2 separate regions of the Homo sapiens genome follow, and region 2 is linked to region 1. Evidence: promoter capture Hi-C in 16 types of primary human blood cells and fetal thymus (Javierre and others, 2016). All regions are on one chromosome and are shown on one strand. The core of a region is centred on a gene start or on the middle of the fragment in contact, and the rest is flanking DNA. Distances in the headings are between cores, read along the strand shown.

Region 1 (2,700 bases), core at 77-2,576:
AATTAGAATATTTGAAAGTAATACATTAACAGAATATGGTAAGTATCATTTATGTTGGCAAATAAATTCACGTGTGAAAAACCTGAAAGAACGAACTACAAAACATTCTTCAACAATAAAAGAATAAATATATAGAAATCAGTAGCCATGACAAATACAGATGGCAGCCAGTTAGAAGGTGTACTGGAAGGTAATGCCTCATTTACCCTGAGTAAAACAAGATCAAATATCTAGGAATAAATATAAGAATCATGTCTGATAGGCAAGCAGAAATTGAAGGAACCCCAAAAGTTTGAACAAATAAAAAGACACACTATATTTTGATTAGGAAGACAGCATCCTAAAATTATCCAATATCCTTCAATTAATCTACAAATTTGATAAAATTCCAATACAAATACCAACAAGATTCTTTTTATGTTCTGAGGTTCAAATGGAAAATCAAACAAGTAAGAGTAGTTGTGAAAATACTGAAGAAGTCAAGCAATGAGGGGCAACAATACCTACCAGATAAGAAAAAATGCATAAAGCTATCATACTCAAAGAAATATGAATGAATAGACAAATCAGTGAAATAGAATATAAAGTCCATAAATACATCCTAATACACATAAAAATGTATATGATAAAAGAGGCATGTAAAATGAGTTATTCAATAAATGAGTCCCTGGAAGATAAGGAGGGTGGGAAACAGATAGGATAGGCTATGAATTATTAAGCAACTGGTTTATATCTAGTTTAACCAGCAAGATGCAGGAGCATCTTCAACTTAGTTTTCTCATAGCACCATGATGTCCACAAATCCACTTACAAGCAATAGTTCTGTCTTTCCCAATGTTACATTCCAAGCATTCACAACCGTATCTGGACACAGAAACTCTACCATGGTACCAAACAGTAATTACTCTGCAGAGGTAATAGGTGCACACACTATTTAGGTCTGAATACCACAGCAGGGAAAGGTATGCCAGCTAGGAAGGAAATAAAATCTCAGGAAAAACGAGGGCAAGTAGAAAAAAAAAAAGATAAGAGGAACTAAATAGCCTCGCTGGGCACATACTCATGGGAACCCTGCTGATGTTGCCCAACTTGAAGATAAAGAGATGCCTATGATATAGAATCATGAAGATCTCACCTCAGAGAGATCCGTGATATGTCACCCAGGAGCATCCGTCACCTGCCGGAGCACTGTACCAGGAAACCAGAGGCATGGTTCTGTGTAATCTCGAGCAAGCTAAGTGGCCATGATGAGAATGCTTCTTCCTACTGTGCCCAGCTACAGGATTTATGTAAGAATGACACGAAATGACAGATGTGAGTACACTTTGCAGCTCTGATCAGTGGTATCCTAATAAAGAAGAATTGTTAGCTTTGAGTTGAGCCTTGTTTGTAACAGGCACTCACTTCACTGTTGTTGCCTTTTATGTTCCGGAGTCCTGCATGATATGGACTCCAGGATAGCAAGAGTCCACATACCCCTCCCCAAGAGAAATTAAGCTGGGAGCCATGGAATTATCATCATCTCCTTGCCACCCTGTCCAACTGCAGGTCGTGGGAAGCTGAATTTACCCTGTGAGACTTCTGCTTCATTTACATTCATCTTGGCAGGCAGTGGTGGGTCGTGGGGAACCTGTTGAAAGCATGACAGCAATGAAGGCTTTCTTACATGCTGAACTCACATCAAAGCTCTTTTCTTCTGTGCTGACACATGTAACTCTTTACCAGTCTGATGATAACACATACAGAGACAGACCCTCGGATTCCTGCTGGGGAGAAAACAGAGCCAGAGATATGCTGTACTGAGCTGGCAAATACAGTGTTCTTTCTGTTAAAATCTGATGGGAAAGTAACTAGGCAAAAATCCATGGTGCTGGCTACGGTACAAAGATGACCAAGGCTGTCTCAGGTATCCTGGTGGCTTTATTGTCTATTTCCGGGAAAAGAGTAGGTAGGGATCAAGAGCAAAGAACATGGGAAAATGTGCTGCTTTGTCATTGCAGTTCATTTATTTCCTAGAAATTTTGGCTTCTAGGGAAAGGCAGCGTGATATAAAAAAGAAAAAGGTACTGGACTCAACCTGATTTAAATCCAGACCTGACACTTTGCTACCTGGATGAACTTGGGTAAGTGACCTAAGCTCTCTAAGCTTCAGTTTCCTCATCTGTAAAATGAGGATGAAATTTTCTATGCAAGATTTTGTAAGGAAGATCAAATAAATGGACATAAAGCAATTGACACATAAATATGGAAACGATTTCTCAGCTTTCCTCCCTGAGGGACAGAGACTCTTCAGGCTACTTAAATTCTCCCCAGACTTTTCCAAGTTGCTCTTTATCCTCATACCCTGGCCACACCACAAAAGCTGCCCACATAGAAGAACTTGGTGAAGACTTGCTGACTATTCCCCTAAATTCTGCTTGTTTAATAAACATCTGCAGAGACAGGCTCAGCAATGGGCTCATTGTGGAGAATCCCAGAAGTGTGTGGCAACACCAAAGGAATTTTATGAAAGTCCCAGGAGAGAGAAACTGTCGTTCAAGTCATCACATAGCAAACTGCCCCTAACACGTGCTGCACACACATTAGGTGGTGACTCAGTTTTGGTGTTTGACTTGAGTCTTAAAACATAGTTCAGAACCTGATGATACTTCCCTGAATTCCCATTTTTAGTGTGAAAGTGTGTTCGGCTTCCCGTTGGCT
Region 2 (2,700 bases), core at 150-2,649, 470 kb after region 1:
GTATTTCCCCCTCCAAATCATTCTTGGCCTTGCTCTTTCCTTTTGCCCTTGCTATTTGCTCTGTCTATAATTTCAATCTCTATTTCCTAACAGTCACCCCCACTCTGCCTCAACCCCTACACAGAGCACCTGGCTAAGTCCTGTTCCTTCAGGTCTCAGTTGAGATGTCATTTCCCCAGGAAGCTTTCCCCAGCTCTCAGGTTTAGGTCTCCTGGGGTCTCCAGTAGGTGCCATTGTACCTTGCTCTTACCTGTCCTAGCCCTTATCTCATCCAAAAGTCATCATCCATTCTCTTGTCTATCTTCTGCTCTGAGCTTTCAACACTGAGAACAAGGTATGAATCTTTTTCCATGTTTCCCCCCAAGTACATTGTACGGTTCAATAAATATTTTCTGAATAAGATTTAAAAAATAAAATAACACTTCGTTTCATTCAACCTCTTTGGAAGCCAGATCTGATCTAGTTGCTTGTGTTCAATGCCAGCCCCAGGTCTTGCTCTTTATTGATGCTTATTACCTGTTGCTGGCTTGATGGGAGGGTGTGGTGACAGTCAATAGATGCATTCCAGGGGGAAAGGAGGGGGCAGTAAACAGTTCAGGGCTTCTCAGTTGGTCCCAGATCAGGAAGACAACTGAGGACAAGGCCCTGGCAGAGAGGCCTGGAAGATTTTCCAAAACTGGGATCCAGAAGAGAGGTTTCCCCTCTCAGGTCACATAGGCAAGGCTGGACTCTGCTGTCTGTAATTTCATCACTGGCCAGAGCAGGATTTCTGAGATGTAATAAGAATTCCAGGACAGCACACATGAGGCAGCAGGTGGCTGGCAGCCTTATGCTAGATGAAGCCTGGGTGGCGAGGCAGTTCCCCAGCAGGGACACACACTAGGGGGGCCCACATTCCTTCCTGCTCCACCCGCCGTAACCCACCTCCCCTTCCCCCTTCTCATCTGTATTTCTGAATGCCAGGCCCACTCAGGCCAGACATTTAAGACAGCACCACCAAACTTCTAGCACCTTCAACAGTTGTCAAGACTGATGAGAAAAAAAAGAAAGAAAGAAAGAAAAGAAAATAAATTGTTAGCAAACGACTCTTCCCCATCTGTTTTGATAGATGAAGGATTGACAAGATCATAGTTTGTCTCCTTCAGGAGTTAGTGTGGCCAATACAAATCATATCAAAAGTACTTGTTAATTTAGTTTCTGTAGACTAGAAGATAAACAAGTATCTCTTTCTCTCTCTTCCTCTCTTTTTACTTTAAAAAAAAATTTAAAAAATATTATAGGACTTTCACAGCCAAAGTCAACTTTTCACTTCCTTTTCAAAAATTTCCTGGAAATTTTTGTTTTGGTTTCTTTTCACAGTTATGTGATATTTACTTATTTGTTTTTCTCTTAGTGAATATTTAGGTTGTTCTGGGTTTTTTCTTCTTTCACATAATTCTATAATATATTCTTCTGCATATCTTATGTACACATGGGAGAATCTCTTAAGTGGAATTGATGGTTAAGTACTTCCACATCTTTACTAGATAAGTAATTACTAAATTACTATCCAAAATGGTTGCATCAATTTATACTTCCGCCCACAGTGTACATGTTGCTCTGTATCTTCTCAAATACTTTGGCAAATGGTTGTTTTTTTACCAATCTTAGAGATATAAAATGGTACCTTGCTTTGCTTTAATTTACATTTCCCCGGCTACTACTGAGATTGGCATCTTTTCATGTATTTATTGGCCTTTTAGATTTCATCTTCTGTGAATTGTCTGTTCATATCTTTTGCCTAATTTCTTATTGAGCCATTTATCTTTTTCTAATCAATATACAGTTTGGATTGTATATAAATTTGTCTATATGATTTGAATCCTATAGAATGCATATGATTCCAAATCATATACATTCTGAATAATAGTCCTTTTTTTGTTTTGTAGAGATGAGGTGTTGCTATTTGGCCCAGGCTGGTCTCAAACTCCTGGCCTTAAGCAATCCTCCCACCTCAGCCTCCCAAAGCTCTAGGATTACGGCGTGAGCCACCATGCCCAGCTTGGATACTAGTCTTTTGTTCTTTATAGGCTATATTAATTCAAGTCTTCCAAGAAGCAGAAATCAAAACAAAATTGGAAGTGCAAGACAATAATGGGGGGTAATACCTGCGCAGGATAATGGGGAAAAGAGCAGGCATGGTTGGGGAGAGTTTTCAGACCCCAGTGCAGGTCTTTATGCCTGTGAAAGGGAAGAAGAGGAAAGAGAATTGGGTGGGAAAAGCCTCCATCTGCAGGGCAGCTCTGAGAAAGTCAGCCAGGCTAATGGGGAGCCTCAGAAGAAAGTTTGCCTTTTAAAGAAGTCCCACACTGAGCAGGAATGACTCAACTCTGGTACTCCCTCCGTACTCAGACATTGGCTAGGATCGGTCAGAGCTAGCAGAGCCTCTGCTAGAACACAGTGGTGGATCCTGAAGATGAGGCAACTCCAGGCTGTCAGCCAATCACACCTCATAAGTGTGTCTCTGTTGAAAGGAGCCGAACAGCACACTCCCCTGACTGCCACATTGCAAATATCTTTTCCCAGTTTGTGTTTGTCTGTTTTTTATTTTACTTTATGGCATATTTTGAGGAAAAGAAGCTTTACCTTTTTTTGTTTGTTTGTTTGTTTGAGACAGGGTCTCTGTCACCCAGGCTGGAGTGCAGTGGCATGATTACAGAT

Evidence for each region. The method cuts DNA at HindIII sites, captures the fragments that hold promoters and counts their contacts. A CHiCAGO score of 5 or more calls a contact.
Region 2: a contact is called between a fragment that was not itself captured here and the fragment with the promoter of RMDN2-AS1 in region 1, in 2 of 17 cell types (M2 macrophages and M1 macrophages). The highest score is 5.3, in M2 macrophages.

What each region holds. Positions count from the first base shown.
Region 1 is chr2:38,035,015-38,037,714 of GRCh38, forward strand. RMDN2-AS1 (RMDN2 antisense RNA 1) reads right to left here and starts at 1,327. Exons shown (of 4, transcript NR_102712.1): 1 at 1,136-1,327. It also overlaps a transcript of RMDN2 not described here. The HindIII fragment of the contact is 2,287 bases long and covers 1-2,144 here.
Region 2 is chr2:38,503,565-38,506,264 of GRCh38, forward strand. The region is part of intron 1 of LINC02613 (long intergenic non-protein coding RNA 2613); the gene reads right to left. Among named protein-coding and RNA genes, the nearest start is that of LINC02613, 11 kb to the right of the region's middle. The HindIII fragment of the contact is 2,436 bases long and covers 182-2,617 here.